Linked DNA regions of Homo sapiens: region 2 is linked to region 1. Evidence: promoter capture Hi-C in 16 types of primary human blood cells and fetal thymus (Javierre and others, 2016). All regions are on one chromosome and are shown on one strand. Each heading gives the region's core, a stretch centred on a gene start or on the middle of the fragment in contact. The rest is flanking DNA. Distances are from core to core; before and after follow the strand shown.

Evidence for each region. The method cuts DNA at HindIII sites, captures the fragments that hold promoters and counts their contacts. A CHiCAGO score of 5 or more calls a contact.
Region 2: a contact is called between the fragment with the promoter of EEIG2 here and the fragment with the promoter of TMEM167B in region 1, in 2 of 17 cell types (non-activated CD4 T cells and total CD4 T cells). The highest score is 8.2, in non-activated CD4 T cells.

The regions. Positions count from the first base shown.
Region 1 is chr1:109,086,424-109,093,090 of GRCh38, forward strand. TMEM167B (transmembrane protein 167B) reads left to right here and starts at 4,341. Exons shown (of 3, transcript NM_020141.4): 1 at 4,341-4,459; 2 at 6,467-6,598. The coding sequence starts at 4,450. It also overlaps the pseudogene NDUFB3P1. RefSeq lists an enhancer at 3,975-4,174. The HindIII fragment of the contact is 3,338 bases long and covers 1,578-4,915 here.
Region 2 is chr1:108,556,839-108,563,505 of GRCh38, forward strand. EEIG2 (EEIG family member 2) reads left to right here and starts at 3,262. Exons shown (of 11, transcript NM_001010883.3): 1 at 3,262-3,727. The coding sequence starts at 3,591. RefSeq lists a silencer at 2,923-3,462 and enhancers at 3,853-3,952, 4,416-4,465. The HindIII fragment of the contact is 6,399 bases long and covers 3,037-6,667 here.

The DNA.
Region 1 (6,667 bases), core at 3,091-5,590:
CCGAGATGGCGCCACTGTACTCCAGCCTGGGCGACAGAGCGAGACTCTGTCTCAAAGCTAAAATAAAATAAAATAAAAATTGGAATTTGCCACTGGGTGTGGTGGCTCACGCCTGTAATCCCAGCACTTTGGAAGGCCGAGGCGGGCGGATCACGAGGTCAGGAGTTCAAGACCAGCCTGGCCAACGTAGTGAAACCCCATCTCTACTAAAAATACAAAACTTAGCCGGACACGATGGCGCATGCCTGTAGTTCCAGCTACTCCGGAGGAGAGGCAGAAGAATTGCTTGAACCCAGGAAGCAGAGGTTGCAGTGAGCAGTGATTGCACCACTGCACTCCAGCTTGGGCAACAGAGTGAGACTTTGTCTCAAAAAAAAAAAATTGTAATTTGCCAATTCATCACTCCTCCTGGTTTTTCAGCTTTGATTTCATCCTTAATTTTTTTTTTCTGTTTATGAGACACAGTCTTGCTCTGTCTCCCAGGCTGGAGTGCAGTGGCGTGATCTCAGCTTAATGCAACCTCTGCCTCCCCGGTTCAAGTGATTATCCTGCCTCAGCATCCCGAGTAGCTGGGATTACAGACAGACACCACCACACCCAGCTAATTGTTGTATTTTTAGTAAAGACAGGGTTTCACGATGTTGCCAGGCTGGTCTCCAACTCCTGACCCCAAGTGATCCACCTGTCTCGGTCTCCCAAAGTGCTGGGATTACAGGTGTGAGCCACCATGCCCAGCCTTTACATTTTATTCTTTTTTTTTTTTTTTTTGAGAGGGAGTCTCACTCTGTTGTCCAGGCTGGAGTACAGTGGCACAATCTCGGCTCACTGCAACCTTCGCCTCCCAGTCTGAAGCGATTCTCCCTCCTGCCTTAGCCACCTGAGTAGCTGGGATTGGAGGCTCACGCCCCCATGCCCGGCTAATTTTTGTGTTTTTAGTTTTGTGTTTTTAGACAAGGTTTCACCATGTTGGCCAGGCTGGTCTTGAACTCCTGACCTCAGGTGATCTGCCCACCTTGGCCTCCCAAAGTGCTGGGATTACAGGCGTGAGTCATTGCGCCCGGGCTTAACTTTTTTTTTTTTTTTTTTTTTTTTTTTTTTTTGTGGTGGAGTCTCACTCTGTTGCCCAGGCTGGAGTGCAATGGCACAATCTCGGCTCACTGCAATATCCGTCTCCCAGGTTCAAGTGATTCTTTCGCCTCAGCTTCCTGAGTAGCTGGGATTACAGGCACCTGCCACCACTCCCGGCTAATTTTTTTGAATTTTTAGTAGACACGGGGTTTCACCATGCTGGCCAGGCTGGTCTCGAACTCCCGACCTCAGGTGATCCTCCCGCCTCGGCCTCCCAAAGTGTTGAGATTACAGGCGTGAGCCCCTGCGCCCAGCTGATTAACTTTTATTCTAACCTCTGAGAATGACAGAAGAGGAAAGACTTGTCTTTCAGAGTATGACAAAAACTGAAGAGGTTTTCATCTAGTTAAAAAAAAATGGGGAGAAAAAATTATCTCTAAAAAGTGAGTGGCATGAGCAAAAATGAGAAAGCAAAGACTGTAACTGAAGAACATAGTCTTTATAGACAAAGCTTAAAGCCCATATAGGGAACAGTGGAAAATACTATTGGAAGGCCTTGAGTAGCAGGCTAAGGACTTAGGCATTATTCAGTAGGTAGTGGTTGCTGTCAAAGGAAACACCAGTGTGGTATGGAGGAAAATTTTCTAGTCCTGATTTCAGAAGGCTGGAATTATTGTGCCAGTGTAATACTTGGCAGTCCTTACCCTAAACCTTGGTTTATTTCTAAAACAGGGGTAATCAGGCAGTTGTGAGGGTTAAATAAGATCATATGACAAGGTGTGTTTGCTTTGAAAATGTCAAAATGTTATAAAAATGTAAGTTTTCATTGTTGTGAGGACATAATTGATACTTAAAGACTACCGATATAGCAAAATTACTAAGGTGATGGCTGTAGGATTACAAGAGGGGCAATTTTTTTTCTTTTCTTTGTTTTTTTTGAGACGTAGTTTCACTGTTGCCCAGGCTAGCGTGCTATGGCAGGATCTCAGCTCACCGCAACCTCTGCCTCCCCAGTTCAAGCGATTCTCCTGCCTCAGCCTCCCAAGTAGCTGGGATTACAGGCATGTGCCACCATGCCCGGCTACTTTTGTATTTTTAGTAGAGACGGGGTTTCTCCATGTTGGTCAGGCTGGTCTCGAACTCCCGACCTCAGGTGATCCGCCCACCTCGGCCTCCCAAAGTGCTGGAATTACAGGCGTGAGCAACCGCGCCCGGCCAAAGGGGGGCAGTTATTATTATTATTATTATTATTTGAAATGGAGTCTCGCTCTGTCGCCCAGGCTGGAGGGCAGTGGTGCTGTCTCGGCTCACTGCAACCTCTCCCTCCCGGGTTCAAGCTATTCTCCTGCCTCTGCCTTCCGAGTAGCTGGGATTACAGGCGCACGCCACCATGCCAGGCTAATTTCTGTATTTCTTTTTTTCTTTTTTCTTTTTTTTTTTTTAAGTAGAGACGGGGTTTCACCATGTGGTCAGGGTGGTCTTGAACTCCTGACCTCAGGTAATCCGCCTGCCTCGGCCTCCCAAAGTGCTGGGATTACAGGCGTGAGCCGCGCCCGGCCAGCTGCTGCTGTTTTAGACAATGGTTGATGAAGGATTCGAAGGCCTAAACAATAGAGCTTTTGTTCTGTTTTGTTTTTGAGTGGTCCTGAACAGTTCTTTTGGGCAGGGGAATTTGTCTGTGTGTGAATGTGCAAACATATATATAATCTGAGTGGCTGCCTGGCCTTGTCCTAGGTTTTGTCCCGTATATACGCCGTCTTTTTTTTTTTTTCTTTCTGCATGTATGTATATTTTCTCAAGGCATCTGTCCTGCACTAGACTTTGGCTTGTCTTTCCAGGCCAGCTTCCAGAGGATGCTTTGGCAGTTTTCCCTCTGGGTAACCAAGCAGGCTGCAGCCAGCAGATGGCACTGCAGCAGAAAGGGGCAGAGTCCCTTTAGGCCCTTGACAAGCACGGCGGATTAGTAACCGTATAATTTAACCCTCCAGTTAGCCTTGGAGGACTCGGTGTCGCACTTCCGCCCGAACTCTAATAAAGCGGGCCGAGTTGTGTGCAATTAAGGATTTCAGTATGCAAATCTGAATCTGTACTTTTGTCTCCTCCACCCCACCCCCATCATTAGACTGGCAATGTCTTTTGTCACGTTGTCAAAGTGTCCTCAGAGAAGCGGTGTCTAGATATCGCCGATTTCTGGTTAAAGTGGCTGAAGTGATCCCAGCATTAATTAAATGCAGGAGAATCGAGATTCTCCTGATAGTTTAAGGAAAAGAAAAATTCACACAAGCAAACGGGCAACCCTTTGAATGTTTTCCGACGACGTGGTGCTTTAGGATCTGAAAGATGCGACTTGGTTTTTGTTGTTGTTGTTGTTGTTGTTGTTGTTTTTGAGACGGAGTTTCCGCTCTTGTTGCCCAGGCTGGAGTGCAATGGCGCGATCTCGGCTCACCGCAACCTCCGCCTCCCAGGTTCAAGCGATTCTCCTGCCTCGGCCTCCCGAGTAGCTGGGATTACATTACAGGCATGAGCCACCATGCCCGGCTAATTTTGTATTTGTAGTAGAGACGGGGTTTCTCCATGTTGGTCAGGCTGGTCTCGAACTACGATCTCAGGTGATCCGCCTGCCTCGGCCTCCTAAAGTGCTTAGATTACAGGCATGAGCCACCGCGCCCGGCTAATTTTGTATGTTTAGTAGAGACGGGGTTTCTCCTTGTTGGTCAGGCTGGTCTCGAACTCCGACCTCAGGTGATCCGCCTGGCTCGGCCTCCCAAAGTGCTGGGATTACAGGCGTGAACCACCGCGCCCGGCCGCGACTTGTTTTTGTTACAAGGTTCCTCATTTCATTTGCAACGTTCAGACGCAGTCTGACTAGATTTCCATCCGGAGTAAGGAAGAGCAGCTCAAGGGCAGTCACGGAGGCCGCAGGTGCGGCTTCTTCACCCGCGGTGCTGGAGTTCTCTCAAGTGGAAGCCCAGGACGATGAAAACCTCATAGGTAGGCTGCTGCTTACACACAGCAGCCGCCACGGCGCAAAATAAACTACAAAACTACAAGCCTTTACCTTTTCAAACACACTGACGCGGGCCAGCCCCAGCCCTACGCCCGCAGGGGCACGCAGAAAAGACTTAGTTACCACGGCCAAGTACGAAGCCTTCGAGATAGCGTTCTTCTTACCCTACGTAAACACGCAGTTTCCCGAGCTCGACAATCGGCTAGCCACTCCTGATAGCGTTCGGCGCTCGCCTCTCGGCCCTTGCTCCTGCGTACTACGGCTTCTTCCAGTCACCTCGGCCCGGATCGGGAAGTGTCAAGCGGGCGCTCCCCCATCTCCGCCGCTATTACCACTGAACCCGGACCCCCTACCCAGGTCCAGGGCCAGCCGCCATGACGAACGGTGAGAACTGATGCCCTGAGCGGAGGGTGGGAGTGAAGGACGAAGGGAAAACGTGGCGGGCGGGGCCGGGACTGACGTGGCCGTTCTCCCCGCCCCCTCCCAGCCCGGCCCCCCTTGGCCTCTCGACGCCCCTAACTTCTGTACCCCTATACTCCTCTACGGGTTCCCCCTTCCCATATTCATCTAGGACCCCCAGTGCCTCTTATGCTCACACCTCGAGTTATCTATCCCTATGCTTTGCTTTCCCTTTTCTTTTTCTTAGTTCTTTCTGGCCCTTGGAGAGGTCAGTCCCAGAGGTACTACTGCTATTTAAACCCGGGGAAGAGAGAGGCTCCTCCTCCCAGCTCCCTGCGTTCTCATGCTTTCGGACCGTAGTTTTGTTGAGAGGGCCAATAAATGACATAGAATATCAAGTCCCACACTTTTGGGGTTGCTGGTGAATGTAGACCCCACAAAAGCTTCTTCTTACGGAAAAATACCGGAAAGATTTCTGATTTTAAAGTCCTGGCGGGGTGATCCCACGTGGAGACCCTGACTAGTGTTGCAAAGGGTGGATTTAGACACTGCCTCTTCTAGATGATGAGGCAGTTTATCTGACCTAATTTTCCAGGCCTCTTCAAACACTTTATGAATTCTGAATTCCAGAGGAGGACAGGAAGGAGGGCCTTCATGATTTTTAGTGTCAACCTTACAGGAAAGGAGAAGAGAAAGCCTTTTAGGCATTACGATGATTTGAGGGGCTCCGGAAAGCATTTCTCAAAAGTACTTTGTCCATAGACCTGGCACTGAAGACTCGAATTTAACCTCCTTGTGAATTTTGGCATTGTCTGCAGAAACTTATGAGAGAAAAGGGGTAGCACGTGAAGGTATAGTTCCTCAGAAAACCTTAGTGTATGTATTAATTTGCTGGACCCTTTCTTAGTGACAGCTTAGCTGTGAGACAGTTTTACTGGAGGAAGAGAGGTAGTGTGATCTAGAACTGGCAGACACTGGTTATATATAATATTCATTTGGAGCTTCCTGGGAAGTCAGAGGTCTCAGGATACTAGGCACAGTAAGAAAAGGGAATTTACCCAGAGGAAGACAGAATCTGAACCAGGAAGTAAGACAGCAGTTTGACACGGTAGTTGCTGAATAAATTTTAGTCATTCTTCCCCCATTTTGTGGTCCAATATCTTCTTGTTTTTTGCAATTAGGTGATTCATTGTGCTTCCCTGTACAAGAAATAAGCTTGGTTTATGTATTTAAGAAACAGAGCTAAGAAGTTAAAGCTTTCTATGTTGAAGCCTTAGATACTTTTTCTTTGTTTTAGAAAAATCTGTTATTATTCTGGCAGAAATTCGGTTTGTTAAGAGTATCATCCATAAAGTGTAAGATAATGATAGGAAAATTGTAGTCATGTGGATTCTTACTCTTGCAACTTTCATTAAGCTTAATTTTTTGCCTTAACATATTCTTCACCAACAGTTGCACATCTGACAGTTTTGGCTACATATCTAGCTCTCCTTTATCATATGAGTGATTTATAACAAGAACATGTTAAATTCTCTGTGCTGAGTCTCTAAGGATTCATATGTCTCAATCTATTGCCAACACTAGTCATTCCTGGGATGCTAATTTCTGCCCAGGATTTCTACTTCTTGAAAGGTGAGGGGAAGGACCAGTGACATTTTAGTAAAGGGGATGTAAAAAAAAAAATTTTTTTTTGAGTTGGGGTCTCACTCTGTTGCTCAGGCTACAGTGCAGTGGCATGATCGTAGTTCATTGCAGCCTCGAACTCCTGGGCTCAATTGATCCCCCTTCCTCCTACAAGCAATTTTTGGGAACAGTAAAATAATCGTGTTAGTCCCAGGATCCTGGCTCCCCCTTGTCAAGTGTCAGTACTGCCTGTTGAGGTTATTATTTTGTTATTATGTCACACACTATCTTCCTTAGAGTTCTCAGGCGGGATCACAGGTCCGACGCTAGATCAGTACCTAAGGTTTTCTTTTCTTCTTTATTTAACAGTGTACTCCTTGGATGGGATTCTGGTGTTTGGTTTGCTCTTTGTTTGCACCTGTGCCTACTTCAAGAAAGTACCTCGTCTCAAAACCTGGCTGCTATCAGAGAAGAAGGGTGTTTGGGGTGTGTTTTACAAAGGTGAGGCCATGTCTGGACAGGGAGAAGAGACTGCCATCTCTGGACAGTGTGGAGCTACAAAGTAGGGAG
Region 2 (6,667 bases), core at 2,012-4,511, 530 kb before region 1:
TTTTTTGAAACATCCAGAGTGGTTTCAGCTTCCTATGGTGAACCCTGACTGTATCCTTTGTGTGCTAGTGGCTTTCCATCCCCTTACCTCCAACCATTCTCTACCTTTCAGTGCCCTACTTTGTGCCCCAGGAGTCTGTCCTGTATGAACTGCATGTTCCGAGCCCCTCTACCCTCTGGCCTTGGTTGGTTTTGGATCATGGGAAGCACCACCAAGAGATCAGAAAGTAGGAGGTGAGAGAAATCAGGATATTTATCCCTTCTTCCTTTCAACTTCTCACCAGACTGTGGGTCCCTTACCCTGTCAACTCTGTGAAGAGTCCTTTCATTAAATTTTCCCCATTTAAACACATTGAATATGATATCTGTTTCCTGCCTTGACTATGACTCCTATCAGGGGTTTAATAATCAAACCATGAGTCTAAAAAACAGTAACAGACTGTCTCCTATCTTCCATTTTATAAAGTAGAAGAGCTTTACAAAATGTAAATCTGAATATATCATGCTTCTTCTTTAAAACTTCAATGGCTCTTTGTTAACCCCTGTCACTGTACCCAACTCTAAGTTGCAGCCAGACAGAACTAATTTCAGTTCCCTCTGCAACATGGTCTCTCTTCCTTTGAGCCTCTGCACAGACACTACCTCCTTCCTGGAAACTGCTCCCCACCCATGCTCATTATTCAGGCCTCAGCTTAAAGGCCTGAATTCAGGCTTCACTTACCCTAGAAGGCATTCCATAAACCTACTACTTATCCCTGTTAGCTTTTATAGTCTCCCACAGCAGTCTCCACTCACCATCATACACAGACAGCACTCAGTGTTACATTGTACTGCAACTGCCTGCTTACTTCTCTGTGTCCTCCAGTAGACCGTGAGATCTAAGACAGGGACGGCATTTCAAATCCATAGGACCTATTAAGGTGCTTGGCACCTAATAGACACTCAATAAATATTGGATAGTTCCTGAATGTTATTGAAAAAGATTGAACTGTCCTCCTCTGGTCACCATTCTCTCTCTCTTTTCATTCGCTGACAAAAAAATCAGAAAAACATCAATAAAAATATAATTTTTATTTACCCACATTACTTTGTCACTATCTTACTTTTCACTGTCATCTTTTCACTTACTTTGTCACTTTTCATCTTACTTTGTCACTATCTTTTATGATGACTTCTCTTGCCAAGATTACCAATGACCTCCTAGACCTTCAATTCAGTAGCTTCTTTTCAGTCCAAATCCTCTGGGACTGCTCTGCAGCACTCTCTTGAAATGGTCCTCTGTCCTACATGGATCACAGATTGCTCTCTCTCTTTCTTTCTCTCTCTCTTCTCTCTCTCACACACACATACTCACATACCACACACACACACTTTAGTTGATCTGTTTGCATATCTCTGTTTTTCTCCATTCCTTTATAAGCCCCTATGTCTTATTCATTTGCATCTCTAGTACCCAGCATAGTGCCTGGCACACAATAGAACTTTGTAACTACGAATGTTACATGATTAAAACCGTCTGGGCTTCCAGGCCATCTCTTTCTTCATCTCCTTTTTCTCTTGACTGCTTGTTCTTAGGCACCTTCACGATCTCCTCTTTGCCTACCCTTTAAATATTCTTCAGAGTAACTCATCCTTATCCACCTTTTGGGCTTCAGCCATCAGCGATTACCTCAATTCCCAAATGTATATTTTCAATTGCCAATGCATTTTTATGAGCTAAGGCTGCCTCTCTCTCCCTAGATGTACTGCAAGCAGATCCCATAAAGACTCATTATCTCTTCCATTCCCAACCTGCCCTCCTCTTGCTTTCAATGTTCAGTCAATGAAATTAACATTCATCCAGTGCTCTAAATGACAAATCTCAAAGTCCCCAAATGCATCTCACTGTCTTTGCCCCCTGTCCTGCAGGGTAAGAAGCTTTATCCATTACCAAATCCCCACCCCCGAACCTGCCTCTGAATCTTTTTTTTTTTTTAATTTATTTCTCCTAGAACAACTTACCCCACTTTGTCCCAAATCATTTTCATCCTTTGAAATTCAGAAAACTGATTAACTTCAATTAATTGCTTCTCTGAGTTCTACATAGCTTGGTGCTAGGTTGTGTTTTTTTAATGACCTGTCTAAACATGTCTTCCTCACTAGATTGTAAAATTCTTGAGGGCAGTTATTGGCTTTTGGTTATGGGGTCTAGCCGATGATTGACATTTTAAGCAATTTTTTTATATGAATGAATGAGTAAACGAGTAAACTGAGAAAGAAAATATTTTCAATTAAACCCTTTCAGAATTACTGTGGCAGAATCTGAGTGAAAATGACAATAACTCAGTTTAAAAACATGAACATCACGTAACCAACTTTGTAACATTCATTGTAACAATACATGCATGATTACAGAAGGCAGGTAATTGTTATTCCCCTAGGGAGATTTTTTTTTAAGCCTGCTCTGAAGATTTTGTTTTGTTTTTAAGACAGGGGCTTGTTCTGTTGCCCAGGCTAGAGTGCAGTGGCGCGATCTCCGATCATTGCAAGCTCCGCTTCCCCGGCTCAGGCTAACCTCCCTCCTCAGCCTCCCGAGTAGCTGGGATTACAGCGTAGCCATGCCAGACTGCCTGCAGAATTTGATTTTAAGCATTTCAGTTCTCAGTATAGACAGACAAATTTTTAAAGGGAGGGTATTATTTTAACTGCTTCTTTGCTCTTTTATCTTTTGTCCTGGGTGACAGGAACTAGATAAGCTATACCCCAGAGAAAGCGCCTGCAGCAGTACGGTGCCTGGGCCCTTGATAGTCCCTCAGCACATCATTTTCCTTTTTCCTACCTTATCTTCCTTTTATATTTGAAGGCTCGTGAATTTAGAGTACCTAACGGAAATTTTAGTTTTAGGATTTCAATTTGACCAAAACAACGCTGAGATTTTAATTGCCTCTATTAACCCATGGCTCTCAAACCCAAAGGAAAGAAACCACTGGAGGGGGTGGGGGAGAAAGGAGGCGGTGCAAAAACTGAAAAGAAAGGCGGAGAGGAAGCGGTAGAAGGAAGCTTTCTCTGTCGGGTTTGTCTTTTTTTAACCCCAGAAAGGCGTGACGTGCTAACTGCCGTCGCGGGTTAGAGTCCGCGGCCAAGCCCGCGCCCGCCCACAAAGTCCCCGCCCTCCCTCCGGCTTCCGCCCCGCCGTGCGCTGCAGGCCGCGGCCGCTGGGGGCGCCCCCGACCCCCGAGGCGCTGAGGCGGCGGTTCCTCGAGCCTCGCCTCTCCCGACTCCCAGACGGGCGGCAGCGGCGGCGGAGGCGGCGGCGGCGGCGGCGGCGAGCTGAGCACCAAAAGGGCGCTCACCTCCCCGGGCGAGCTGCAGCACGACCGCTCCCCGCGGGCGGTCGGGGTCCGCGCCGCAGCTGCCGCCGCGTTCCGGCCCAGGCTGCCGCGAGAGGCGGCGGCAGCGGCCCCGGCCGCGGCCGGCCTGCGGCGCCCCCCGGCCGCGCCCCCGCGCACAGCTCGCGGCCCCGGCCATGGGGCTGGGCTGATCCGGGGCTCGGCCAAGCTGAGGCGGCGGCGCCCGGCCGTGCGCCCAGCTTGCAGGCGCCTGGCTCTCACGATGATGAAGAAGAAGAAGTTTAAGTTTAAGGTGGACTTCGAGCTCGAGGAGCTCTCCTCAGTGCCCTTCGTCAATGGGGTCCTCTTCTGCAAGATGCGGCTGCTGGACGGCGGCAGCTTCACCGCCGAGTCCTCCAGGTAACTCGCCTCCCGCGCCGCCTCGCCCCTTTCTGCTTGGCCAGGGCTTGTTGGATGGGCAGCATCTCTCCTTGGCCCATTTGCTCGCCTTTCCCTAGGGACCGCTCTAAAATCAGTCGAATTTATTGATCTGCAAAGTGCTTTGCAAATGGGTTCTTCTCAGCTGGCCTTGGTTCCTGCGCTCCTGACTCCAGATGGTGCCTGGTATCTGCTCTTCCCTCCCAAATCCTCTAGGAATGGGAGCAATGGCCAGAGAGGGAGGATGCTTCTGTTTTCTCTTAAGACATTTCCATATTTGTGAAATGCAAAGTAGAACTTGAGCTGTTAAAAACTAAAATAACCCAAACTGCAGGAGTTCCAAGAGCCCAGCTCTGAACAGAAACCTGTGCTTAGCACAATTCCTTCTCCCTTGTAGATTACAAGGGGACTTGGCCACCCACTCTGAGGCTGGGGTAGGCCTGGCCAGGCTTGACTTGAGTCAAGTGCTCCTGGCAGACGAGACAACGGTCTGTGCCTCATCAGAGAGCGGCGTCTCCAGTTAGGCGCTAATGCTGGATGAATTAGTCTTGAAGTGGCCACTAGTAGGTCTCCTTGTGGGAGGGCTTAGAGCCAGATGGGGAGCCCAGGCCCTGCCCTCATTTTAAAATGAGCCCCTGGGCACTCCCAGAGAGAGGCATTAGCAGGTTACAGAATGAAGCTATTAAATAATAGGTGTGGCATTAATAATAGGTGTGGCAGTGTTTCTTGAGTAATTTCAGAGCTACTCACAGGTTGACAGATGTACCCTAAGGTGCTTTCTTTAAAATATATACATAGAGAGAGAAAACAATTTTTTAAATGAACTTTTGAGTTCCTGAGATCAAGAAGGGTTAAAAGTTAATGTTATTTTGCCCATATATACTGGTCTTAGGCTTTATTTCTGCCCTAAAAATATTCTACTTAAAAAAAATTCCGTCATCCCATTTATAGTATAAAGGAAATAATGTCACTGGATTGTGGAATTGGGGCTAGAAACTTGTCTTTGGGGCAATATTGAAGCCTATGGAAGCCAGAAAATGTCTAGTTGGCTAAACCAAAGGATATATGAAATTAATAGTTTGCCGAAGACAGTTTTTAAAATTAAACTGTGGTGACACATCAGTGGATATTCAGCTAAGTATTTTAAACACCTGTAAGAGAAGAATGTAACCTATTTTGGTGCAAAAAAAATATTGGACCATCTCTTACTTGTTGAAAAGCCTAAGCCGATTCGTGAAGGTCCTGTTGGTGCAGGTGACAGTCTTGCCCTGAGGCCTAGACTGTTTTGCTGCAGGGTGCCACCCCCGACGCCAGGCAGTTAGACTGGCGCTCCTGGGCCAGTGGTGACACCTGGTGGTCAGGGCACTTGTCTACGGGGCTTCCTTCCTACCTCAGTTATGTTTATTTGGCTTACTTCCCACAAGTCACTTATTCTTTCGTTGTAGGCAGTCATTTATTCAGCAAATATGTGTTGGCTTCTAAATATATTATCTTATTTAATTCTCATAGCAAGTCTATAAGGTAGGGGTTCCATTTCGTAGATAAATAAACTGAGGCTCAGAAAGCATAACTAACTTTCCTAAGGTCCCCTCAGCTGGTAAGTGCGATGCCAAGATTCTGATCAGGTCTGTGTAACTTCAAACAGGGTGGTGCCAGATAAAGGAATAAATCGTGTGCCATATATGAAAGTTTCTGAATAGGGAGCTTCCTAATGACTTTAATGAGCAAGGGGTATACTCCGCAAGACTTAGAAATGAAAAAGTTGAGTATCTTGGGTTAAACTCACCCCTTTTTCTTCCAATTAAAATTTGACTTTGATCAATTTGATTTTAAGTAAGATTAGGAATAGTGCTCTGTGTAGCCAAACCAAAAAGCCATATAGTATGGGGGAAATGACTCACAATAAGGAGCCTGTGCCTTTGACATTAGGTAGAGATAGTTGGTGTAAAGCTAAGAGCAAGGATTTGGAATGCGGTGAGTCTAAGCCTAAACCCCAGTTCCACTGTGGTAAACCTGGATGGGTTACTTAGAGTCCCAAAACTTCTGTATGTAAAATAGAAACCATCACTGACATGTGGTGGTGTGAGGATTTAGTGAGATGATGTGCCCAAAACACCTAAACAGTGCCTTAGCACCCAGTTGGCATTTAAAGAGGAGACCAGGAACTTGTCCAAGAAGGTCCATTTGCTTGAGATGTTATATTTGATTCCTTTATCCTAACAACTACAAAATTGTTGGTTTGAGAAAGAGACCTCATTTTACAAGAAAAAAAAAAAAGAAAATCTGAAATATCTAAAGGAAGTGAATTATTTCAAAATCACAGAACTTTTAATTAGTGGGTGCCAGTCAAGGCAGTGCATCTCTAATTGAACGCTAGATTTTAACTTCTAAAAAATTGCTGTATGTGCCCCTTAAAAGTCAGGTGTAGTTAACACTGTAACATTTCTCCTGTAAAAATATGAAATGAATTACATAGAAAAGAGGTAATATAGCAGGCCCAAGACTGCTATTCTTAGAAAGGCCTATGTACAAGGCTGGCCCTTGGCTGGCATCTGGGAGCTTGAATGGTAAATGGTTCCATACATGATACAAAACTTTACGTAAATGATAAGAGTGGCTCACTGTGCCTAGACTGTACGGAGTGGTTTATGCTAAATTCCATCTGGAATTTTGGTTCTTGCTAGGCAGCCTACGTGACCAGCCCTAATACAAATTTTGGGCATTGAGTCTCTAATGAGTTTCCCTGGTAGACAGCACATCACAATTTAATTCTAGAGAAGTTAAGTGTGTGCTGATTCGACTTTGTATCTTTTCATTGTAATAAACCTTAGCCATGAGTAGGACTGTATGCTGAGTCCTGTGAGTCCTAATGAATCACCAAACTTAGGATTGGTCTTGGAGACTCCCTGATGGATGAACCTT